4 separate regions of the Homo sapiens genome follow, and regions 1, 2 and 3 are each linked to region 4. The links are contacts of gene promoters, found by promoter capture Hi-C in blood cells and fetal thymus (Javierre and others, 2016). All regions are on one chromosome and are shown on one strand. Each heading gives the region's core, a stretch centred on a gene start or on the middle of the fragment in contact. The rest is flanking DNA. Distances are from core to core; before and after follow the strand shown.

The links. Contacts are between HindIII fragments. The CHiCAGO score rates a contact against its expected background, and 5 or more counts as called.
Region 1: a contact is called between a fragment that was not itself captured here and the fragment with the promoter of KCNH2 in region 4, in 2 of 17 cell types (activated CD4 T cells and non-activated CD4 T cells). The highest score is 8.4, in activated CD4 T cells.
Region 2: a contact is called between a fragment that was not itself captured here and the fragment with the promoter of KCNH2 in region 4, in 1 of 17 cell types (non-activated CD4 T cells). The highest score is 6.7, in non-activated CD4 T cells.
Region 3: a contact is called between the fragment with the promoter of GIMAP8 here and the fragment with the promoter of KCNH2 in region 4, in 1 of 17 cell types (total B cells). The highest score is 5.0, in total B cells.

What each region holds. Positions count from the first base shown.
Region 1 is chr7:150,340,555-150,346,986 of GRCh38, forward strand. It overlaps LOC107986858 (a long non-coding RNA gene), which reads left to right and starts at 1,291. Exons shown (of 3, transcript XR_001745420.3): 1 at 1,291-1,783; 2 at 2,974-3,087. It overlaps RARRES2 (retinoic acid receptor responder 2), which reads right to left and starts at 1,075. Exons shown (of 6, transcript NM_002889.4): 1 at 1,024-1,075; 2 at 1-75. The coding sequence starts at 55. RefSeq lists a silencer at 114-183. The HindIII fragment of the contact is 2,219 bases long and covers 3,507-5,725 here.
Region 2 is chr7:150,431,823-150,438,310 of GRCh38, forward strand. It overlaps LINC00996 (long intergenic non-protein coding RNA 996), which reads left to right and starts at 1,832. Exons shown (of 4, transcript NR_034033.1): 1 at 1,832-2,007. RefSeq lists enhancers at 1,973-2,072, 3,724-3,943, 4,164-4,263. The HindIII fragment of the contact is 2,700 bases long and covers 1-2,628 here.
Region 3 is chr7:150,445,834-150,452,049 of GRCh38, forward strand. It overlaps GIMAP8 (GTPase, IMAP family member 8), which reads left to right and starts at 4,797. Exons shown (of 5, transcript NM_175571.4): 1 at 4,797-5,342. LINC00996 (long intergenic non-protein coding RNA 996) reads left to right here. Exons shown (of 4, transcript NR_034033.1): 3 at 867-1,056; 4 at 1,243-2,307. The HindIII fragment of the contact is 1,822 bases long and covers 3,772-5,593 here.
Region 4 is chr7:150,976,510-150,982,961 of GRCh38, forward strand. It overlaps KCNH2 (potassium voltage-gated channel subfamily H member 2), which reads right to left and starts at 1,812. Exons shown (of 15, transcript NM_000238.4): 1 at 1,329-1,812. The coding sequence starts at 1,404. LOC124901776 (a long non-coding RNA gene) reads left to right here. Exons shown (of 3, transcript XR_007060592.1): 2 at 27-202; 3 at 336-846. RefSeq lists an enhancer at 1-110 and a silencer at 2,480-2,829. The HindIII fragment of the contact is 24,052 bases long and covers 1-6,452 here.

The sequences.
Region 1 (6,432 bases), core at 3,366-5,865, 630 kb before region 4:
CGCCCACGCCCACCGCACCCAGCCACAGGGCCAGAGGGATCAGCAGCCGTCGCATGCTTCCGTGTCACCCTGGCCCTGCGAAGCGGGTGTGCGCCCCTCAGCTCTCCGAGCCAGCCCGAGCCGCCTCCTCCCGCGCCCTGCTCTGGGGGGAGGGTGGGGAGCGGGGGCGGGGTCCAGGCCTGTAGAACGCTGGGCACAGGTGAAGGAGCCTGGAAATGGCCCTTTCTCCAAATTGACCTTAGGGTCCGCCTGGCCCTCTCCGTTCCCTCCCACCCTGCCCGCGCTGTTCCCTGGGGCCTGCAGTTTTAGCAAAGTTCCCTGCCCACGCTAGGAATCAGTCAGTTCGCACTCCCACCCTACACCCCTAATCTTGCCCATTGTGTCTCTCCCTGGGTCTCCGGCACGACCCACTCTCCTCCCTGCCGTCCCCGGAGCCCCTCTCTCCTTTCCCCGCTCAGCCTTCTCCCCAACCGCTACTCCCTCCCCGTCCAGAATCCCCCTGCTCCCACGGGGTTCCCCCCACGTCCCCGAGGTCCAGGCCAGCCGGGGGAAGGGGCAGGGGCCGGAGGCCGAATACTTTTGGGAGGACCTAAACACGTGGGAGGGTCCGGACGGGTGGGAGCGGCGGGAGGCCTAATCCTCCCGGCGCGGGGGCTGCCGCGGGCCACCAGCCAGCCCCAGTCGCTAGGAATGGGGGTCTCGCGCCGCCCAGCCCTTGGCTTTCCCGCTTCAGGCAAAATCTTCCCTCCTTCCTCTTTTTTCTGGGGCCTTCCCCACGACCCCTCTTCCTAGCCCTTCTGATCCGTCCCCTGATGCATGACTGGGGCCACCGGAGGGGCTGACCCTCCCGGAGAGCCCCGTCGGTCCTGGTGGTCTTGGGACCGGAGAGCGACAGATGTGGAAACCGAGGCCCCTCAGTGAAGAGCTGCCAGGGTGGTCGCCTTAGAGCAAAGGCGTTCCTCATTCCGCCTGCGCAGCTGCCCCTCCGCCCGGCTGCCGCCCCAGCCCGCTTCCCCTCCTCACGTCCTTCCCTGCGCCTGGAGGTCTCCCCTGACCGTCCCGCAGCTGAAATCTTGGCCTCGCTGTCCGCCTCTTCCCGCTCTTCTTCTCGCGGGGCGGCCCCCACCTCCTCCCACCCCCACCTCCTGGACCCCCTCCAGCAACTCTGGCTCCTCCCCTCCCCAGTGGGACCGGCCTCTGGGGCGGGATGCCCTCCCGCGCCCTCCCTCCCCATCCCACCCCCCTCCTTCCCCTCGATCCAGCCCTCATGACCCTGACCCTGGCCGCGGCTGCAGGCGGCTCGCCCAGGCGCGCAGCCCTCGGTCCCACCTCCCTCTGGCTCGGGCCTGAGCATTCCGCAGCCTCGGCCGGCCCGGGCCTCTTCTCCGCTGCTCTGCTCCCCCAAGGACTTTCTGTGCCCCACTCCTACCCAGGCAGGGCTGCCCTGTCTTGGGTCCTTTACGGGGGACCATTCCCCAGCGTCCCTGAGACACTCATCCTGGGATTTCTTCCCCTAAATACAGACATTCTCAAACCAAATGAGACCTCGAGGTCCCTACACCTGATCCTGCCTCCCACTCCCTGAGCCACACTGAGAAGGAAGGTCTCTCCTTTAGGGAGGACTCTGGCGCCTGCAACCTTGATCGACAGCAAAGATGTCCAGTGTGTATCCTGCATCTGCCTTTCCTGACCATTCCTCGTGCCCCATTCTCCGTGGGATAGATTCTCATGGGGAGTGGGGGAGCCTTCGGGTGTGGCAGAACGGCATGATGGAATTCATAAGGTGAGCAGAAACTCAAGGAAAACTGTCCAAATACCGGCTCGACTCCTGGGTACGCTGGAGCAAGGATGAAGAAGCTCTGAGACTTTGCACGTCAGTAACCACCAACACCATGCCTCTGGTTCCCACACCGCAGGGATCACCTGAAGTAGAGGATCTCATGTAACTTCATGGCTCTCTCTGAACTTCTGTTTCTTTATCTGTAAGATGGGGATCAGAAACTCTGTCTTAAGGAGTTGTTTTGAGGATTAAATGAAGAAACATGAAAAGCAACTGATGTCCAGTGCCGAGCACAAGGCTTTTGTCCCCTACTTACGCACCCCTAACCAGGATTCTCCACTTAGAGCTGAGAATTTCCTTTACAGTGTGCTCTGGGGGCACCAGAAAGAAACTCGGCTTCCATTAACCACTTCCAGGTGTCTGAAATCCCACCACTACTTAGGGTACTTCACTCCCCAGCTGTGAGCTACTCAGCCGCCCTTAAGCAGAAAGAGATGGGATCCGTGTTCCCTGAAAGCTTTAGATGGGGTTAGAGAGAAAAGATGCACCCAAAGATGTTTCCCAGCCCAAGAACTTGAAGGAAACCAAAATATTTCACCCCAAAAAATACTTCTTTGACACATTTCAAGGTGGCTGTTCAGAATGGTTGGAAATAGAATAACCAAAAAGCTGTCTTTTTGTGGAGAGATTTGCATCTGTAGAGGAAATCTGCATTGATGTAGCCAGGCTTTCTCCGAGGCTCTCCCTTGTCTAACTCTAGGAAAGATTAACTGAGAGGCTGACACCTTTACAGATCTGAAAGAAACATTTACCCTCAGTTCTTTCTGAGGGCTGCTACCTGTGAGGTGTCATCTACCTAACAAGACTCCCTTTGCCAACCAGGCCTCCTCTTCCCTCCCTTCCATAACCTGTCTTGCCACTATCTGAGCCCCCATATTTGTATAAACTCAAGATGGTGGATAAGCTTCTGTATCCCACTGAGGGGTTGGGGTAATCACTTTGTGGTTCTCTCTCATGTATGTTAATAAATATTTCCTGTTAAAGCCGAGGCAGGAGGATTGCTTGAGCCCAGGAGTTCAAAGGTGCAGTGAGCTCTGATCATGAAACTGTACTTCAGCCTCTCTGGACAGAGCAAGACCTTGTCTCTAAAATATAAATGAATCAATTTATTCTATTAATCTGCCTTTCATCAGTTGATTTTTCAGCAAACCTTCAGAAGGCAAAGGGGAAGTTTTCCTTTGGCCCCCACAGACCCATGCTGGGGGACGTCCTGAGGATGGGTGAGGAGAGAAATCTTCCAGGACAAGGTAGGACTTGAGCTGAGCAAAGCGGGAAACTCATCCTGACTTTGGTGGGGGCTGGGGGGAAAGTTGCATCAGGTCTGTTGCAGGGGAGGTGAGGCAGTTGAGGTGGGGAGGTAGGTTGGGAGCAGGGTGGTGGGAGTTGGTGAGGAAGGAGCCAGTCTGGCTATACTTAAATGGCCACACAAAATTCACTTTGGGTGTAGGTATGTGAGGTGCACCCCAAAGAGGTGGACAGTCCTACTGCAGAGCACTCATAGGTGTGGATGTGTGAAAGGACTACTTAGGGCATATTCATGAGCTCAGCTCCAGGTAACATGTCCCAGTCCAGGGGAGCAACAACAGGACTTCACTATTTAATGATGGTTAATGATCTTCCTGGTCATGACAGCTAAAAAAGTAGACTCACGTATCCAGTTGTTCCAAGCTTAGTTTTCCAATAACTGAACTGAGTACCAAAAAACATTGTCCTTTAATATTTGCAACCACATTGACAAAAATAGTTTTTTTTAGAAGAAGTGATTTGACTTTGAAGTAAGAGCATATCAGTTGCAAAACTACACCTATTGAAGTTAAGTACATTTTCCAACTTGTGTCAATTCGGTACCATTAGCATAAATTCAAAAATGATATTGCATAAATTCAAAAGCCATTCTAAATTTATCAATATCAACTAAGAATTCTTCACATTTTTCTTGAAATTTTGCCAATTTACACAATGCTGTATATTACAATTAAAACCTCTGTATGTTGATTCTTGTGACAAAAGTATGTAGATTGTAATTATTTGTCAGTATTATGAAAATATTTAATTTGAAATGCTTATATTTATCTGGCTAGGTCACAAATGAGGTTTCATCTCCTTGGATATTCAAATTTAGCCCATTTATATGTAGTGTGGTATTGGTGAGAAAACACTGACTTTTTTATTTTTAATTATTGAATATTTGGGTTGAGAGTAGTGACTCATGCCTGTAATCCTAGCACTTTGGGAGTCCAAGGTGGGTGGATCACTGAACCCAGGAGTTCAAGACCAGCCTGGGCAATATAGAGAGAGGCTATCTTTACAAAAAAAAAAAAGTTTAATTAGCTGAGTGTGGTGGCAAAAGTCTGTAGTCCTGGCTACTCAGGAGGCTGGCGGGGGACGATCACTTGAGCCTGGGAAGTCAAGGTTGCAGTGAGCTATGATCATGCCACTACATGACCCTCCCACCTCAGCCTCCCAAAGTGTTGGGATTATAGGCTCAAGCCACCACTCTCAGACTTGGCCACAGAGCAAAACCTTGTCCCCAAAACAAATAATAATAATACTTATTGTTGTATATTTGGTAATCATGGCTTCTGTCTCAAGAAAATCTTGGAGTTAGTTAAAAGTACAGTAAATCTTAGGAGAACTCTTCTACAACCCTGACAATGAGCTTTGGTAAAGAAAAGATCATTAAATTCATTATCTTTCATTGCTTTCAACAGTTCCATAAAACCAGCAGTGATTCATAGCATTTCCACTTAAATACGGAATTAGTTTTAATGGCTGTAGCCATGAGACTTGCATAGAATAAATTTCAGAAAACTGAGCACAAATATCTTCAATATGTACCCTAAAGTGAAATGAAGCAACATTGGAAGCATCAATCTCTTGTTTTAGCATTCCAATAAATACCTCAGTCACACCAGCCACATGGCAAGTGTTCCTAAACCTGTGGCTGGTGGCTACCATATTGGATATTGCAGGCAGAGCATGTGTTACCAATTATGTGAGTAAAAACTAAAACTAAAAATGAACAAATTTTTGTGTTTGTAAATGCATGGAATATTTCTAGAAGGGAAAAACAAGAAACTTATAACAGTGTTTGCCTGTGAGGAGAGGATCTGTCCAGCTGGGGAAAACAGAGGCAGGAAAACTGTACTCCCTTTGTACTTTTAAATTTTTATAACTTGTGGATAATTTGTCTATTAAAATATAAAAAAACTTTAAAAACTATTTTTTGAGACAGGGTCTTGCTCTGTCGTTCAAGCTGGAGAGCAGTGGCTCAATCATGGCTCACTGCAGCCTCAACCTCCTGTGCTCAAGCGATCCTCCCACCTCAGCCTCCCAAGTAGCTTGGACCACAGGTGCATGCCATCATCCTAGGCTAATTTTTGTATTTTTTTCTAGAGACAGGATTTTGTCACATTGCCCAGGCTGATCTCAAACTTCTAGGTTCAGCAATCCACCCACCTTGGACTCTCAAAGTGCTGAAATTACAGGCTTGAGCCACTGTGCTTGGCCTTAATACTTTTAAAATCAGAAAGCAAAGCAACAGCTTTTCTTTTGTCTTCTTTTCTTTTCTCTTTTTTTGAGACAAAGTCTTATTCTGTTGCCCAGGCTGGAGTGCAATGGCATAATCAGAGCTCACTGCAGCCTCCATGTTCTAGGCTCTATTGATCTTCCTGCCTCAGCCTCCCAGTAGCTAGAACTACAGGACCACCTCACCCAGCTAGTTTTTATTATTATTATTTTTTTTTTCAGGAGAGAGGAGGTTTTGTTTTGTTGCCCAGGCTGGTCTTGAACTTCTGAGCTCAAGTGATCCTCCTACCTTACCTTTCCAAACTGCTGAGATTACAGGTGTGAGCCACCGCGCCTGGTCCCAATAGCATTTCTGAAAGCTTACTCTGGCTGCTGTGTGGAGAGTGGATAAAAGGGAATAAATCTCAGCAGGAGATAATTGTGATTGTCCGGGTGAGAGACGAATGTGGCAGGGACAAAACTGGAGGCAGTGAAGATGGGAAAACAAAGTCCAGAAATACCTCAGGACTAAAGCACCAGGGTTTGGTGATTGATAAGATGTTGGGGTCGAGGTCAACAGAGAGGGGTGAATCCCAGGTTTCTGGCTTGAACAGCTGTAGACATGGTTTTGATCCTCAGGGAGAGAGAGACTCAGGAGGGCAGTGAGGAGAGAAGTGTGAGGTGTCTGTGGAACATGCCAGTGGAGATGTTGACTGAACAGGGCTGGTGGAGCTCTGGCTACAGATGGGAAACTGTGTTATCTGCATGCAGATCGAGATCAGAGCAGAGATGAGACTGGGGATTGGAGAAGGAAGTAGCTTGCCCTGGCGGTAGGAGGGTGAGGAGGGAAGAGGTTAGGACCTCACTGGGAGGGGATCCAACATGGAGTAAGAGGGGTGGGTGGATGAAGATGAGCCGGTAGGAGCTCAGTGGCAGGTCAGGAGCATGTGGTGTCACAGAGGTGGGGAAGGGGATGTTGGGAGGAGGAGGCACGGCTGGCAGTGTGTGCCCAGAGGTTTAGGAAGATGATGCCAGAAAGCACTGGACCTAGCGAGGCCAGCGGTGACTTTAGCAAGAACTGTCTC
Region 2 (6,488 bases), core at 29-2,528, 550 kb before region 4:
ATCAACAGTCCTCTTGGCAGTTATTGAAAAGGGACAGACCAACTCTGTCACCCCACTCTCCCTTCATCGGCCCACACTCAATACCAACACCAGTCTGGAGTGCATACTTGGAAGACTTGAAGGGGGAAAAGGAGTGAGAAGGAGGGGCTGTTGGAACCTTGAGCTGTGGGGAAGAGAGGCTTTGCTTAGGTGCTGGGGAGACTCCAGCTCCCACTTCAGCCCTGTGTCTGGGCCTGCTCCATGGTGGTGCTGAGGCCCTTCTGTGCCTGTGAAGCTGGACTATGAGAATTTTGTCTTTCTTGTGACTCCCTTTTCCACAGATCTTGGAGTTCAACAGGACACACAAGTCCTAGAACATTTAAAAACATAAGTAAATCCCCCTCCTTCTCCCACCTGGAGAACTTAGAATCGTCATGCCAACTTCTGGAGGCAATGGTCTTCAGATCCGCTTGGCTGTGGCCAAACTACAGGGTGTCATGGAGAAACACAGTCTGGTGGGAGGGGGCAGATGATGAAAGCAGAAGACAGGAAAGACAAAGACTTCTTGGTGTTATCTTCCATGGTGAGTGTGCAGTTTCCATATTCTCCAGCTATGAACTTGAACTCAATGGGAGAAATCTCCCAGTAAGATGTTATGTGGGTGGTGGCCGAGTAGGGGTGGGTTGGTCGCTGTGAACTGTCTGAGACTCTCCTGTCTTAACATTGGAGAAATGGAGACTTGAAGAGGTGAAGCAAATTTCCCTAGATGACTTGGGAACGTTGGGTTGTGGGGAGTTGGGTTTGAACTTGGACATTCAGTTTTGAATCCACGTGCTTACAGAGGGGTAGAGAAGGCTCTAGGGCATGAGAGTCAATTACTCAGCAGAGAAGGGAAAGGGAGAAGATTTCACACATTCCTGCCCTTCTGAGTTGATTTCAATCCTATCTGAGTAATAGACATCATTATGGTTAATATTTGTCTCTGATTGGTCGTCTTTGTTTTGACTCCCCCTGAATTAAGGATTCAAGGGCAAGTAGTTTATTTGAGAGTGGATCCCGAGAAACCCTGGTGGGGGAGTGGGAAAGTGAGAAAGAGAGGAGGCCACTGGAGGATGACTGGTAAGTTCATTTCCACTTTGGGCCACTGAGCTTGATCCTGCTGGGGAACCCTGGCAGGTACGTCTCAGATGCCAACCATGGAGCAAGAACACAGGGGTGTTCTTTCCATCTGGCCTTGGTGGCAGCATCTCCCAGGGGCACTGTGTCCCTGGTGCTCTGGTCTGTGGAGAGTCATAGGTGCTCTTGTTAAGCATCTGTGTGCACGGAGAGGAGAGTGCTTGGGAGGGATAGGGGGTGGCATCAAGGGCATCTGCAAACCTCAGGCAGCTGGAGGATGGCCAGGTGGCTGCCTCTCTGTAGCTCGTGTCCTGAAGTGTCTTTCTGTGCCCACTTATTTGTGCTCGACCTTGGGCTGCAAGTTTGTTGATAGTTACAGGGGGTGGCTCCAGCCACCGTGTTGGGTGTCTCACCCTGTCCAACCCCTGATCTTTATTGTGGACCAGGCTATAGACAGATCTTTGTCAGCTGCCCCTGTGAGTCTTCTGTGCAGACACCTTCCTGTGGAAGAGTTGGTCTCTGGTCACTGTTTCAAGTCTCTGCTGCGGCCACAGCTTTCTTATCTCTCACTTTGGGGATCTCAGGAAATGAGACACCAGGAGGTGTCTGCTGTACAAAATCCTATTTGCTCAAGGAACCTGCATATCTCAGCTCATGTTTCTTAATCATTTTTCTGATTCTAAAAAGTCGATGACAAAACTTCGATAGAAACACAGTTCTAGCATTTGGGATTGGAGGAAGAAGTGTATTCAGCATTCTACCTTCTTCCTGATTCTGTGAGCTTAGACCTGCTTCCACTTTCAATCTCTCTCATTGCAGGCTGAAGAGGACTGGCCTTTCAGTGGCCCTCGTGGAACGGTAGGAAGCTGAGCTGGACTCTCTGCCACATCGTTCGGTTCCCACAACAGCCTGGTAGGTCGGGGTAGTCACTTCCATTTGGGAGATGAGGAAGTCGAAGGAGAGAGCTAGAGTGAGCCAGAACTTAGGGCTGATCACAAATTGGATGAGTAATTGAGATAACTAGGATGGCCCCTAGCTAAGGCTGCAGGCAATGCCCCAAGGAGACTGTCACCTTTTTGTTACAATTTTCCAGGGTGTGATAGGACTTAGGAGGATGGTGTGTCTGTCCCTAGGACTGTAGGTTGTTCTAGAGAAAAACAAAATTTTAAGGACTTTTTCTTTGTGCATATGCCTCAGGTAGGCATCATGTGGGCCTAGGCAATAGGACCTAGGAAGGAGACTCCCCTGTTCCCAGGCCTGCCGCTCCTACTCAGGAGGCTGAAGGGTCCCCACCCCAACTAACCACAGAGTCAGACACATTCTTCCTAACACACCTTCCTCCCGACCTCCCAGCTTCCCTCTTTGTCACTGAAGTCATAGACTTTTTTTTTTGAAGAATTATCAACCTAAATAACAAACAGAAGCGATTCTCCAAAGATGATGAATTTATTTGGAAATGAGCAGCATGATTGTGATGCGGAGTGCCCGTGCCACAGCAGCCATGGGCGCATCCAGGAGGCTGAGGCAAGGGGAAGCTTTTAAGGGCACAAGGAAGACTGGGTGTGGTGACTCACGCCTATAATCCCAGCACTTTGGGAGGCTGAGTCGGGTGGATCACTTGAGGTCCGGAGTTCAAGACCAGCATGATAAACATGGTGAAACCCCATTTCTACTGAAAATACAAAATTAGCTGGGCATGATGGCACATGCCTGTAATCCCAGCTACCTGGGAGGCTGAGGCAGGAGAATCGCTTGAACTTGGGAGGCAGAGGTTGCAATGAGTCAAGATCGTACCATTGCACTCTAGCCTCGGCAATAAGAGCGAAACTTGGTCTCAAAAAAATAAAGGCAAAAGGAGGAGTGCACAGGAGTTGTTGAGTTGTTTTTGAACAAAGAGAACATTGGTTACTTGGGCACAGGAGTTGAGGTCAGATTCTTAGTGGAGATGGCATGTGAGGTGAGAGTGCTCCAACATGTGGCCGGCCGTCCAGTGACTCCTGTGGCAGGCTGCAGTTGGGAAGGCCCTTGGAAATAGTCCTTATTACAGGCATATGTGTGTCACAGCCTTCAGAGAGTCTTTGTAATAGTCCTTTTTTTTCCTTTTCTTTTTAGAAATGGGGTCTTGCCTTGTTGCCCAGGCTGGAGTGCAGCAACGTGATCATAGTTTACTGTAGCCTGGGCTCAACTCCTGGGCTCCAGTGATCCTCCCGCCTCAGCCTCACAAGTAGCTGGGACCATAGGTGTGAGCCACTGTGTTTGGCTGTAATCGTTGTTATTGTAGGCGCATGTGCATGAGGACCCTCCCTTCTTAGGCTCCTGACTCTACTTTGCTTGGGTTTGAAACAAGTGACTCCATCTTGAAATGGACAACTGGCACAGAATAGAGCATTTCAAGGGCAGATTAGATGGCAACTTAAAAAAAAGGTAAAGAAAAATTAAAGAAAAAATTAAAGGTAAGGAAAAATTTACACTTTCTAGGAACTTCACGAAGGAAGGGAAACATGAGACAAAGAAAGAGAAGTGGTTATCAGAAACTAAACTGCACGAGGCTTGTGAGGTTTCTCATGTTCCTCCTGGAACTTCCTCCTAGACTGTATTCTGCCATCTGCTCTGGGGTCACGAGGGAAAGGGCCCCTCTCCTTTCATGGCCTAGAAAGCGTGGCTCTGAGCCATTCTTTGGGCTGAGGTGGGTGTCTGGGGTGCTGGTGGGGACAGCCAGGCCCTGCCTTCCTGGGTACCTCTTGCTGCTTGTCAACAGACCCTGCCCTCCATACTGTGAGGGATTGAAGGATTAACTCCAATTCTTTCCTGTCCTCCATTCATACCCATGCCATTGCTCATCTTGGGCGGACTGTATTTCCCTGCCCATTGAGTTTCGGTTTGGTCTTGTGACTTGCTTTGGCCACTAGAATGGGGCAAAGTGAGAGGGTTCCCGTTCTCAGCCTGCCCCTTGTAAGACCCTGCAGGCTTCTGCTGGCCTCCTGGGTTTCTGCCCTTGCCTGGGGGCTTTCCCTGGGTGGTTTCGGTTCCTTCTACTTGGTACCTGAAATGAAGACATGTGGGACAAAGCCACTCCAGCTGACCTAGAGATCAACAAGATGAAGCCAGTAGACCCACAGATGACTGAGAAATGTGTTTATTGCTGTATCTGTGCCATGTCGATTTTTGTGGTTGTTTGCTGTATGTCACTATTTTGGCAATAGCTATATATTCCCTTTTCCTTCTTCTCTGTGCTCTGGTCTGAATTAATGCCTCTTTGTTTCATCTCATTTCCCATTGCTTTTCACTTTATTATAAAAGCACTGCAATTTATACATTGAAGCAGAAAAGAAGGGTGGAATCCCCATAATTCCATACCCTTCTGTGAATACACTGGTGTCCAGACTGTTGGAATATATTCATTTATTCTCTCTTCATATGTACATTTAAAAGATGAATCAATTCTTTTTTTTTTAAAAGCAAATTGTTTCATTTAACAATACATGGTAAATATACTTGGTGTTAGTGCTGTCTTCAGGGTTCCGTGGAGCGTTTTACAGTCTTCTTTTTAGCACCCTCCTAAAGATGTTGAAGGAGGTGGGTGATGGGGTTGCCTGACTCCTTCACCAGGAGCATCCTCACATCCATCTCTTTCACACATTGGGGTTTCACATGCGCGTTTATTTGCAAAACAGGGCTCTGCTACAAAAATCACCAGTTGAAAATCACCAATCTAAAAACTGCTTTTTATGTGTTTTAATGATATACCATGCAACATTATTATAACCAATCCCTTATTTGAAAATTTAGGTTGTTTTGGGTTTTATAATTAAAATCACATGCTTATGGCATATATTTGTGTATACTCTTAATTATTTCCTTACAATAAATTATTAGAAGTGGACATATAATTTCTATAAGTGTAGGTATAAAATCCTGGCAGTAGAATTTCTAAAAGTGGAAAGCATATGTTCATGTAAAGGCTGCTAAATTGCCAAAATACCCTCCCAAAACCTTATCAGTTACTCTTCCACTGGCAGTGATGCCAGGTAGAACCTCTGACTGTTTGGCAAATGAATGTTTGTATCTTGTGGCTTTAAATTACTGTTCTTTACTAATTAAATGAGGCTATTTCTTCATATAGTTATTACCATTTGCATATCTTGTCTTGTGAATTTTTTGTTTATGTGCTTTGAGCATTTTTTTTGACTAGGATGTCATCTTTTTCTCATTGATTTATAATACCACTTATATATGCTATGTTAGAAAGAATGCTGGATTATAATTTGATGTATTAAGATGGTCTGGCTGGCATTACAGATTAGTAGAGAGTAGAGGATGAAATATCCAATAAGCAGTGCTAGGACAACTAATTATTTATATGAAAAAATAAAATTTTATATATATAATTTTTTAAATTATAAATTTTATAATTATAAATTATAAAAATAAGAACACTCTGTTGCTCAGGCTGGAGTGCAGTGGTGCGGTCTTGGCTCACTGCAACCTCCACCTCCCAGGTTCAAGTGATTCTCCCGGCTCAGCCTCTCGAGTAGCTGGTAGGTGAGCCCCACCATGCCCCCACTAATTTTTTGTATAGAGATGGGGTTTCACCCTGTTGGCCAGGCTGATCTCGAACTCCTGACCTCAAGTGATTCACCCACCTCGGCCTCCCAAAGTGCTTGGATTACAGGCGTGAGCCTCCGGGCCGGTCATAAAATTACATTTTTATCTCACTCTATTCACAAAAAATTCCACTGTGAAAAAAAATAAAGCTTCCAGAAGAAATATGAGGAAGATTTTCCAGTTTTTAAGGTACACAAAAAAAGCACAAATCATAAGAGAAAATATTGATAATTTTGACCAGATCAAAGTTCTGTATAATAGAAGACATTATAAACTACATCAAAATACAAGCCACAGACTTTGAAAAGACACCTGCAAAGCATAAAATAGTGAATTATTAGTACAGATGCTCCTTGATTTACGAAGGGATTATGTCCTGATAAATTCATTGTAAGTTGAAAATATAAATGGAAAAGGCATTTAATATATCTAACCTATGGAACATCATAGCTTAGCCTAGCCTACCTTAAACATGCTCAGAACAACCACCCGAGCCTATAGTTGGGCAATAGTCATCTAACACAAAGCCTATTTTATAATAAAGTATTGAAAAATCTCATGGAATTTATGAAATACTGTGGAGCGTTATGAGAAAGTATTGTACTGCGTATTGCTAGTCTGGAAAAAGATCAAAATTCAAAATGCAAAGTACAGTTTCTACTAAATGCATATCGCTCTCTACTATTGTAAAGTTGAACAATTGTAAGTCAAACAATCCTAAGTGTAAGTCAGGGACTATTTGTACATAGAACATAGAAAAATGGATGTGGTGTCTCACACCTATAATC
Region 3 (6,216 bases), core at 3,547-6,046, 530 kb before region 4:
CCTGGGTTCAAGTGATCCTCCCATCTCAGCCTCCCAGGTAGCTGGGACCACAGGTGCATATCACCAAGCTCAGCTAATTTTAAAACTTTTTTTGCAAAGATGGAGTCTCTCTATGTTTCCCAGGCTGGTCTTGAAATCCTGGCCTCAGGGGATCTTCCCTTCTTGGCCTCCAAAAGTGTTGGGATTACAGGTGTGAGCCAACACATCCAGCTGTCCCCACTTAAAATTTTTTTTTTTTTTTTTTTTTTGAGACAGAGTCTCACTCTGCTGCCCAGGCTGGAGTACAGTGGTGTGATCTTGGCTCACTGCAACCTCCACCTCCTGGGTTCAGGTGATTCTCCTGCCTCAGCTACCCGAGTACCTGGGACTACAGGAGTGCCCCATTAAGCCAGGCTAATTTTCTATTTTTAGTAGAGACGGGGTTTCACCATGTTGACCAGGCTGGTCTTGAACTACTGACATCAAGTGATCCACCTGCCTTGGCTTCCCAAAGTGCTGGGATTACAGGGGTGAGCCACCGCACCCGACCCTCACTTTTTATAGGTGAAAAAATATGGAGAATTTGGGGAAATCCCAGGAAGAAGAATGAGTAGTGAGGTGCTGGGAAAACCCTGGGATCATATGAAGTTGCTGTGGAATTTTACAGGAATTGCCCCTCCCTCTCTGTTTGGGTGATCCTTCTCTTTTGGTGGATTTTTTCATTTCAAAATCAGGTCTCTTGCCAGCTTTTAACTACCATTGACTCATAGTTTTTACCTTCACAAAGCTGTTTGCTACCACTATCAATCACTCAGAGTTTAAGAACTTTCTATTTCCACTCCTGATTATTGTCTGTGGGCCTCTTATGACTGCCTGTATCTCTCTAGAATCTTCCAGAAGCAACATGACTCTTTTAGGCCTTTGCTGCCAGCTAAGAAGGTGAAGAAAAGTCACCACTGCAATAAAAAGAGGGCACTTTGTCTTACTTGGCAATAAACCACCACCAGCAGCAGCAGCAATAGCAGCACCCCCACCCCCACCAAACCCAAAACAAACAAGAAAAGCAAAAGGAAACCTGTAAGCAAAGCCCAGGGGAGCTGTGTTGAATGTAGGTCCAGAGTGGGGTTGAGGGCTGCAGCTGGGCACAGGGTGCCTGCGCTCCAGCAAGAGTGCAGGCTGGAAGAAAGTCATTCTTTATCATCTCATTGGCCCTTGGATGGTGTCGAGAAGATTTAGAAATATTTTTATCCTCTTTATTTTTAGTCGTTTTCAGTGAGAGGATTGGCATGAAGAATCCTTGGGACACAGGAATCAATCAAGACCTTTGGATGCCCCTGCCTGCTCTGTCTCTAGAAGCCTCAAGCCCAGCATCCCCATGCCGACGTGCTCATCTCTAGCAAAACACCAGCCTCTCAGCCCTCTCTCCATAAAGGCCACTAGAAAGTACTGTGATGCCAGGCTGCTCCACATCCAGGCAGCCTGGGTGACCACTGCCCTTTATGAGAATCAGAAAAAGCTGTCTCCCGAGTAGTTGGAATTACAGGTGCATGCCACCATGCCTGGCTAATTTTTGTATTTTTAGTAGAGATGGAGTTTCACTATGTTGGCCAGGCTGCTCTTGAACTCCTGACCTCAAATGATCCACCCGACTCGGCCTCCCAAAGAGCTGGAATTACAGGAGAAGCTAAACGTTTTAAAATAAGTATATTATTTCTGAATTACTATAACAGACATGGACTCCATTTGAACAAGATACTTAATTCCATCAAAAACTTGTCAAAATATACAAATTTAGTCACAAGACACTTTACTACCATCTACCAAAGCTGTAGTAAACACACACATTTTCCATCTTTGAAATGAAATAACGTATAATAATGTTTTCCAAAATAACAAAGATGTCTGCAGTGAATAGCACTCCCTTTGATGTGGCAACTGGGTCAATCGTGTTAACAACTGTGAATTCATCTTTTTAAGAAATTCTTTTATTGTTTCTTTTCTTTTCCGCGACAGTCTCACTCGTGTTGCCCCGGCTGGAGTGCAGTGGCGCTATCTTGGCTCACTGCAGCCTCCGCCTCCCGGGTTCAAGCAATTCTCATGCCTCAGCCTCCTGAGTAGCTGGGATTATAGGCACGTGCCACCACACCCAGCTAATTTTTTTGTATTTTTAGTAGAGACGGGGTTTGACCATGTTGGTCAGGGTGGTCTCGAATTCCTGACCTCAGTTGAGCCGCCGGCCTCGGCCTCCCAGGAAGTGCTGGGATTACAGGCATGAGCCACCAGGCCCGGCCTTATTGTTTCTATTTGTAATAAATCTGTTCCCCTTGCTGCTGTCTCTGCGTTAGTTCTCCTCATTTCTAGCTTGGGTGCTGCAGCAGCCTCTGACCGGTCCTTCTGTCTCCAGCCTGACTGCGTTTTCTCGCACCTGCTGGGCTGTCTTAGGGCCCCGATGCCGGTGGCGTTTGCCATTCTCCGTCTGCCTGAGGCGTCCTCCCTCCGTCATCTGACAGGCAAATGTTACAGCCCTTCAAGACTTAGGCATTACCTTTCCCGCGCGGCCTTCCCTTCACTGTGCCTTACAATCTTCTCCATGGCAGGACATAGTGAAACTCCGTCTCTACCACTCCGTCAGTACCTGCCACAGGAAATGGCGGGTTTACGGATTTGTTTATAAGTTTATTTCCCCAATTGGTTGTTTTTCCATCTTGCGGGGTTTACATCGTCTCCTCCTCACTTGCGTGGCAGCCTGGACGCATCTCTATCACAGCACATTACCTCGTTTCGTGACCACAGCGTAGTCTCTTCCCCATCCTCAGACTGAGTTAGGGCCCCTTTGAGTCAGGTATTTGCCTTGCTAATCTTTGTGCCCTCTGTGTCTAATACGGTGCTTGGTCCTGGTAGATTTCTCCTTGCTTGCATAACATGTGTCTTCCTGGCTTATTCGATTTCTGGAAGTCTAGAACTTCTCCCCAGTGTTTCACCTGCCTGCTGAGTCAGGGCTCTCGGCCCGCTGGGGAGCATTTTGCTGCACTTGTCATTAGCCACAAAGCCACTAGGGGGCAGGGAGCCCCCATCCTGCCTCAGATCGGTGCCAAACCAGAACCCGGCAGCCTGCCTTCTGCACGGAAATCAATTCTCTAGGAGCTGATTTGCTGAAAGATCATTTTGCAAAATGGTCAACTCAGCAAATAATCGACTTGCTGAATCTTTGAGGAGTTATTTGCAGCTTCAGTTTTACTTAGAGCAATCCCTGGATGCTTAATATTTCATTTAAGAATGAGTGAGCCTTTTCTTCTCTATTTTGGGGAAACAGTTTCTTGCTGAGCCTCTGCCTCTGTTAGTACCCCAGCGGGGATGAACTGCAGTACCTGGCTTCGGGTTTTTGTCTTTTCATTATAATGAGTTGGTTTTATGTGCGTTGACCTACTGTAAAGGAAGGGTGGGGTTCTTCCAAAATAGATCCTCTTTCAATGAGGAGACAGGTAGAGTGGGACATGGGAAGGGCTTTGTCAGCTTTCCCCATCAAGATGTGTCCTGTGTGTCCCCAAAGCTCTTCTTGAGCCATCCCAGCATAACCAGGGTTTCCCTCAGGTTCATAACAAGGTAGAGCAGTCCTCAAGGCTGGCGCATGAAGACCAGTCCAGGGGGAGGGTGGATCCCTCGGGATGTGATAGGCTGACAGCAGCTCCCCAAAGCCTGTGGTTTTGACTACTGTAGAGACTTCATATCTGAAGCATGCCCCTCTACTTCAGCCACCCCCACTGCTCCTCCTTCTGCGGGGTCCCTTTGGAAAGCTTAGCACCACCTCAGACATTTGGAAAACTAACTTGAGCTCCAGTCCCTCGAGGCCCTAGCCTCTGCATCCTGTGAAGAGGGCCCTGCTGTGCAGAGCGCAGAGGGTCCCGCACTCACTTGGATGAACCTCTAGGGCATTCTGCTCAGTCTCAGGAGGGCAGACACTGTGGGACTCCACTCACATGAGTATCTGACGTTGCCAAAAATCATAGAAACAGGCCGGGTGTGGTGGCTCACACCTGTAATCCCAGCGCTTTGGGAGGCTGAGGCAGGTGGATCACTTGAGGTCAGGAGTTCAAGACCAGCCTGGCCAACATGGTGAAACCCCGTTTCTACTAAAAATACAAATATTAGCCGTGTGTGGTGGCGGGAACCTGTAATCCCAGCTACTCGGGAGGCTGGGGCAGGAGAATTGCTTGAACTCGGGAGGTGGAGGTTGCAGTGAGCCGAGATCACACCATTGCACTCCAGCCTGGGCGACAGAGCAAGACTCTGTCTCAAAAAAAAAAAAAAAATCATAGAAACGGAAAGTAGAACGGTGGTTACCCGGGCTGGGGTTCGGGGAGGTGAGTTGGGGTGTAATGGGGAGAGTTTGGGTGCTGCAGGATGAAAAGTCCTGCAGATCTGGCACACAACCATGTGAATGTACTTTCTACTGTGGGCTATACACTTAGAAATGGTTAGGATGGTACTATTAATGTTACATCATTTTTACCCTAGTAAACATTTTTTAAGAAGTCTTCCTCCGTGTTTGACTTCCTTATGAAGTAGAGACCAGGTAGTTTGGACACTATGTTCTTTCACAAAAGGGATTTCATTTTGTGAAATATTTGAAAGCATCGAAGTCTAGCATTTCACGTTTTGCAAGCTGGGGAAAAGCATTCATTCCCTGAGAAGCAGCGTTGGTCTGTCAGGCTTGGAGTTCCCCGGGTTGTGGGTTTTAGGGAAGGGAAGGGAAGCGAGGAAGGACTTGTGAGAGGAAGTCCTAAAGGCCACTTAAGGGCACACAGAGGCCCGGAGCTGGCTTTGCTCAGAGCTTGTAGCGGCGCCACAATCTCTGTCCTCTCAGGAACAGGAACTGGCTTGACGTCCTTTTCCTGCCCTATCCAAGCCCCTGTTCTTGCAGCCCTTCTGAAGCTCAGCCTGGCACCGGCCCCGGCGCCCCAGCCCCTGGCCAAGCCTCTGCTGTCATTTCTCCTCCCTCCTCTCAGTCTGCAGCTGCGGGACGGGCCGGGCTCCTCAGTTTCTGCTGTGTTGTGACCCCACGAGGCGCTCAGCACCCAGGGAAGGCGCGTGTGTCCCCGATGCTGGCTCCTCCCTGAGCCCCGACGGCTCTCGAGGTTCTGAGCCTGTGGCCTGCACAGGGAACTTCCTCTCCGACTGCATTTATGCCTCTGTGGATGTGAAGGCTATTTCTAGAAATCTCTTCCTTTGCAGAAACACCCGAAACCCTCCTGCCAGGAAGACCAGGGCCTGGGAAGAGGGTCGCTCTCCGGCCATTCTCCCCTCACCCTCCTCACCTTCCTCACATCCTGTGCCCTGGGGGACCAGCAGCTGCTTCCACCCAGGTGAGAGATGGAGGGATAGAGCCAGGTGGATTGCGGAGCCTCGGAGACTGTGGGACGCCGTGGGACCCCATGGGACACGACCGCAGTGCATGTGTGACATGTGCACTCGTGTGTAGATGTGTGTGCACTGGTGCATGGCTGTGGGGGAGGATGGGCTTGGCACCGGGAAGGCAGCCTGCTCAGCCATGGGAGAGGAGGCTGGGTTGAATGGCAGGGTTGAATGGCAGAGTTGAATGGCAGGGGCCCTGGGAAGCTTTCCTCCTGGTCCAAAGCGTGTCTCCCCAGCCTGCTGGGGAGTAGATTCGGCAGGATGGGGACAGAGGCATATTCCCAGACATCTATGAGAGTGGCTGTCCTAAAAGAAGGCGTGTCGGGGAGTGGGTGTGAGCCCTGAAGAGGAGGAGGGCTGAGACTGGCAGAAGGGAGGAAGAAGCAGGCGGAAGCAGCCGGTCAGATGCCCCATGAAGCTAGATGGTGCCGCAGAGCAGCCCCCAGGAGGAAGCCAGCGGAGCTCCTCCCGCAAAGCAGGGGGTGGGGGATGCTGATTTTTCCACGTCTGCTTTTCTGATCTTTCCTGCCCCTTGCACAGTTAGGATTCTGTGAACTGGGCATTGGAGGGATTGGAGGGGTCAAGACCTTACCAAAAGCAATATTTCTGATTTCACCTACATTTCAGCCAACCTGGTCCTCAGCAGTTAACCTCTTCCCTTCCTCTTGATGGTTGCCCTGCTGGGCTGGGTCTAAGGTCTTCCCCACGCTGGGCTCTGGAGGCATCTCCAACCACCCTGCTCTGTAAGTGGGAACTGCGATTAGATGTGGGATGAATCCCCGCATGGCTGGATGCTGTGCTCAGATGCCTGAGTCCACGTTTGCC
Region 4 (6,452 bases), core at 562-3,061:
AAACCACCCCTTGTCCTCTCTCCCAGGCTGGGGAAAGAAGAGCAAGTTTCTTCGAAGGCATGCCCCACCCCACCACACACCCTTCACTGAGATCCTGGAATACAGGGATGGGACAGAAAGCCTGCCCCTCCTCCACAGACCTGGAACCTGAGACCCAAAGAGGGAAGAGTCACTCAAGGTCACATGGCAGTCAGTGGCAAAGGTAGGGCTAGAATCCAGCACCCCCCCCCACATCCATCCCAGCCTCCTCGTAGGCCCGCCCACAGCCTCCCCCTGGGCCCACCCCCACCTCTCAGGGAGGCCCTCAACCAGTGTCATTGTCTCCACCCCCTCAGGATCATCTTGTTCCTCCGCTTCACACAATACTGACCATCGGACTGACCCCTCCTTCCCCCAACCACCGTTACAAGCACGCGTTGTCCTGTGCTCACAGGGTCATGGACAAGGAATGTCATCCTCTCCCAACTCCCAGGGCCCTTGGCAGTCACACCCACTGTGGCTCATGCAGCCTTAGGGACAGGCACATGAATGCTGCCCACCCCCAGGACATTTGCCTAATCTGGGACCCTTCTAGAAGCCTCCCTACCAGGCAGGCATTAGGGGTGCTGTACTCCCGGTCCCCATAAGGGAATTAGGTGACAGTCTCCAGGGCAAGAAAACCCACAACTTGGGGGTACCACAGGGAGCTGCTTACCCTCAAAGCCCAGCTCTAGCCCCAGGACACCCTGTCTCCACAGAGCCCACAAGCTCGCAGCCTTGTCAAAGACACCTCCCCACCGCCCATACAGGGTCTAACTCACGGGTGACACATGGGCTCAGGGTTATATACACACGGCACACACAAGAAGAGATTATGAGCTGACCCTGCATCCACGGCTTTTCAGTCCCTCCGGCACAACACAGTCAAGATCTGGCAAGACCAGTGTGCGCGCTGGACTCTCGGGATCCCAGGGTTTGGGTCGTACACACTCTTATGCCCTTGCACACAGCCCCATCCACGTCCACGCACCCAGAGTTGGGGACACCTGCACACTCCATCCCACATCCCTTCCCTGCACACTCAGCGTGTCACACACACTCCGATCCCAAAAGCCTGAGCTGAGTTTCCCGCCCCAAGCCCCAACCCCAAACCCTTTGGCCCGGTGCCCACGGCCCCGGTGCACCAAGCCTTGCCCCCGCCGTCCCCTCGCCAAAGCCTGGGGCCCACCAGGCCCCATTGACTCGCACTTGCCGACGCACACGGCCCGGGCACGCCCCCCCATCCACACTCGGAAGAGCTCGGCCCGCCCCCAGAGCCCCCTCCCCGCTCAGCCCCCTCCCCCACTCACTCTGGCCCTCAAACTTGCGGATGATGGTGTCCAGGAAGGTGTTCTGCGGCGCGACGTGGCCCCTCCGCACCGGCATCCTGAGCCCATGGGCGGGCCGGGCGGGCCCCCACCCACCCCGGCCCGGCCCGGCCCAGCACTAGGCTTCGGGTGGCCCGGCCGGGCCGTGGTCCCCGCACCCCGCGGCCAAGCCGAGCACGGGCGCGGCCAAGACTGGACTGCGGGCGCCGGGTCCTCGCTCGGCTCCCGGCTCCCCGCTCCGGACCCCGGGCCCGGCCTGGAGCCGCCTGAGCGCGAGCCGCCCGCCGCCGGCACACCTGTCTGCCGGCCCCCGCCGAGCCGCGGGGCCCGCTCCGCCGCGTCCCCGCGCTGCGCTCCGCCCGCCCGAGCCCCGGACTCCTGGCTCCCGCCTGCCACCGCGCCGACAGCCGCTCCAGCGCCCGCGGCTCGGGCAGCGCCTGCGGCTCGGCCCGGCCGCGGAAGGGTTAATGCGGCGCGCGCCCCTCCGGCTCCGGCCCCCGCCTCCCGGCCCCCTCCCGCCTGCCGCGCGCCCGCAGCACCGCCCTCTCCCCCCCCCATCCCGCCCCACCGCGCGCGCCCGACCTTCCCATTGGCTGAGCCGCGCCGAGTGCTCCCCCAACGCCAGCCCCTCGCTCTGCCAAGGAGCCCCTGGGACTCGCGCGCCCAGAAGAGGGGGAAGGGACCCTTAGGCAGGGGAAACCGTGAGGACAGGTGCCATGGCCGGCTTGTAGGCGGCCGGGATGGGGGAAGGGATTCCACCCCCACCCCAGATTAGCGACTAAGAAACCTGATTTGAAGGGAAACGGCGGGTCCTTATGCCCTGGTTCCCCACCACGCCGAGCACTGGCTTGGTATACACAGCACGCGCTCAGTGCCTACTGTGGGTGACCGGGGCAACGCCTGGACCCTCGAAGACGAGCCCGGAGTCAAGGGAGACCCTGGAAATAGGAAAAGCAAGACAATCTGAAGGCCCCAGAGCAGCAGAGCTCTGAAATAAGGGAGGGTTAAACTTAGAAGGGGCACGCCCCCTGCCCCAACACACACACACACACACACACACACACACACACACACATACACACACACACACACACACACACACACACACACATACACACACACACACGGAGAGAGAGAGAGCCCTCTGTGGGGCTCTGCATAGGAGCTGCACAGAGAGGGACATTCTGACAGCAGTTGCGGCCTCCTAGCTGCAGGATCAAAGAGAGGTCCCTGAGCGCGAGGTTCCAACCAGGGGATCCCCGGGTGCGAGCGGCCCGCCCTCCCCCGGCAGCCCGGGGCCAGCCTTGCACGCCCAATCGGCGGGCTCGGGGCCCTGCGGCGGCGGCCACGGCCCAGCCCCTCGGAAAGCCCTGGCCTAGCCGCAGGCCCCTCCCCCCGGCCAGCTGGCTCGCTCCAGCTGCGGCTCCCTTATTTAGGCAAGGAGGCCTAGGGATGCTCAAGGGCAGGCGGGGTGTCTGCCCCGCCGCCTGCTCATCGCCTGCTTGCGTCTGAGTGAGGGTCTCCGGGCGCGGTGTCCTCGGACTTAGCAGTCAGGCAGGGCCCCGGGAAGGCCAGGGCGGGGAGGCGAGTGTTGACAGCTGAGTGGGCGGGCGGGGAGGGAGGAGTCGCAGCTGAACAGCCGAGGGTCCCCTCCCTGCAGCCGGATCAGAGACCTGTCTAGATGGATGGGGCCATGTGGGGGCTCCTGAGGGCTTGCAGCTGCCTCTGTCCTTGGAGCAGGGGCTGGGTCTTGTCACCAGCGAGAACCATCATGGGGGGAGGGGAAGAACAAAGGGCAGGGAAGGAATCGGAGTCCCGAAGGAGGAAGGCGCAGAAAACTGTCGTCGTGAGACCACCCTACCCGGACTCTCACCTTCCACCCAGGAGCACAAAGATGCAAACACTGGGGCCAAATGGGGCCACTGGCCAGCAGATGACACTCTTTTTTATTTGCTGGTGGGTGGGCAGTGACTCAGGGAGGCAGCCAGTGGGAGAGAAGGAGGTGGCTCCACAGCTGATGCTAAAAAAGTCCAGAGGCTCTTGCCTGTGCAGTTATTCCTCAGGCCCTCTCCACTGCCAGCAGTTTCCTCACTCACCCCCCCGGGGGCCCAGGGCCTTCCACAGCACAAGCTCCTCCTTGGTGTAGCATTTGGCATCAGGTGCATCAACACATCTGGGTTCCGGGTAGAACCTAGTCCACGACTGGCCCAGCCCCCGCCACGCCCCAAGGCCACCCCTGGCTGCTGGGTTGCCTACCATGAATCCAGGATGATTCATGTGTGAGTGAAGTGTCCTCCTGTCCAGGCCAGGGGATGGAGAGAAAGTGAGCAAAGGCCAGCAGCTGAGAATGGGCATGGGAGGGCAAGAAGGGAAAGGGACATCTGTAGCCTCCCCCTCTCTCCAGACCAAGGGAGAGGGAGAGCCAGGCCCTGAAGGGAAGGAGCCACTCATCTGAGCTGGCCAGCTGTCCTCCACTCCTGTACCCGTGTTGCTGGGACAGGCCTCTGCTCTTATCCCAAAGGGAAGACAGGAGTCAGAGGAGCCCTTCATCCTCCCAAACAGAGAGGAGCCCAGGCACGGGGTAGCCCTCCTTCTGTGCACAGAGGCAAGAAGAGAGCTGTTCCCTCAAGCTGAGGAGAGACAGATCTCTCCCTCTCTCCCCCCAGCCCACTCCACATACTCAGAAGTCAAAGCTGAATGTAGATTTCTGACTTCCTTGGAGGCTCAGGGTAGAGCCTGAAGGCAGACCCACTTAGCCGCCCCCACACTCAAGAATTGAGCTGAGGAAGAGAAACGGTGAGAGGGGGCAAGCTCTCCCCAAAGCAACATTTCTGGGCCTCAGATGAGCTGATGGAGAAGCCCCCACTGCCTTCAACTTCCCACCTCTGCTACCCCCAGATCTGGGACAAAGAGAAAAGTGCCCAACCCTAATACCAAGAGCTGGGCTGTTAAGCCTCTAGAATCTGCCCCACCCCCATCTCAGCTCCAAGAGCCATTTCAGAGACCATTCCTGGGAAGAGCTCTCCCGCACCCTGCCTGTGACTGAGGGAACAGAGAGGCTACAGTGAGATATCCAGGCTCCTCCCAGCTCCCAAAAAGAAACAATTTAGGGAGAAAAGTCTGCAGAAAGCATCCTACCCACCCTGCTCTCTGCTCCTGCTCAGTCCGAAGGCATGGAGCCAGGACATCCTGGAAGGAGAAAGAGAAATGGAAGCCCACTCTGCCAGAGGTCCCCCAAGGAGCGGGCCAGGCAAGACACCACCAAAGTCAGGCCCAGGAGAGCCTGGGGTTACCCACAGGGGATTGGGAAGCAGTTCCAGTCGGCTGGGCACAGGAGAGACAGGTTACAGAGCAATGGTTCCTGGGAAACCCTGGGGAAGGAAGAACAGAGTGAGCAGGTCCCTTGATGCTTGAACACGGTGGGTTTTTTTTGTTTTTCTGTGCAACTGGGTCCCCAGAATAGAGATTTTTTTCAGATGTGAACTGGAGTTGGAGAAGAAAAGAATCAAAGAAACAGCATGTTTCCCCTCCAGAAGTGGATGATCAGGGCTTATTGATAGAAAGAAGGGAAGTAGGAAGGAAAGAAAGAAGGAAGAAAGGATGGAAGGAACCCGCCTGAAACCCCTAGCCAAGAGCCAGGACACTCTTCACTCATCGCCCTCTGCAGCTCCACATGTAGCAATCCTGCCAACCCCTGGTCCATTCCAAGGTCTTCTCTGGACAACCTGATCCCCACCTTTGGTGGGACATTTTCCCTGCCTTTGTGGTGTCAAAAGAAGCAAGTAAGGCCCTGGAGACTAGGATTCGGGAGATCTGACTTCTAATTCTGGTTCTGCTACTAGTTGCATCGACAAGTGTTTACTGGGGGCTTTCTAAGTACTGGGCCCTGTGCCAGACACTGCTGGGGGACAAGAGGGATAAGCCAGGATCCCTCCTCCAGGGATTCACAGTCTAGTGAGTTTTGAGGGAGACGGTGGGCAGACAGAAACTGCAGTCTGCAGTCAGTGCTGTGGGATTACGAGGAGGTGTTGGTTAATTTCAACCGGAGGAGTCTTGGAGGGCCTTGCCAGGGAAGGAGATTTCAGTGCAGGTCCTTGAACGTTGGAGGTGGGGCAGGGCAGAAGCATTGCAGATAGAAGAGACAACATAAGGATATATAAAGAAAGGAGAATGGAGATTGGGTCTGAGGACAAAATAATTTGATGTGGTGGCAGTGGAGCAGCAGGCTGGCACCATTTGCAGAGGGATGAGGACTATGAATTTTATTATCTCTGCAAGGGGGACACAGTAGTGGCAGGAAACAGTAAGGAAACAGTAGTGGCAGCTGAATGCAGAATCCATGAATGTAAATATTCTGTCTTTGTACAGACCCTGGCAAAGAGTAGGTATCCAAGAAAGGTTTGTTGATTGAATGAAACGTGTATAATAGTTTGGAGAAAATGAGGTGGATATGAGGTTTTTCCATTACCTATTGCTGCATAACAGCCATCCCAAGATCCAGTGGTTTAGTTGGATATATTTTGCTCATGGATTTGCAACTGGGGTAGTTTCCACCAGGACCACTTTTCTCTGCTTTACTCCAAACTAGAGACTGGAAGGTTCATCTACTTACGTTTGGTGGTTGGTGCTGGCTGTTGGCTGGGACCTCAGCTAGGACTGGGGCCAGACAGCTACACAACGCCCTTCTGTGTGGCCACTTGGCTCCCTCACAGCATGGTGGCTGTGTTCCAAGGGCCAGTGTCCCAAGAGAAGACCAGTCAGCAGCTGTATCTCCTTGAATAACTTAGCCTTAAAAAATCACATAAAACAACTTCTGCTGTAATCGTGACCCATCAGATGCAAGGAGAACAAACACAGACCCCCACCTCTCAGTGGAGGGGTGTTGCTGTCACACTGGAAGAAAAGCATATGTATTGGCACGACCACCTTGGGAAAATATCATCTGCCACATAGAGCAATACAATAGTCCAAGGGAGAGATGCCCAACACTTGAACCAGGTCAGAGGTGATGGAAAAGGGCCCATTTGTTGTGTAACTTTAGGAGTACCACTAAATCTCACTTTCCTTACCTGTAAAATGAGGAGACCAAACAAGCTGATCTCTGAG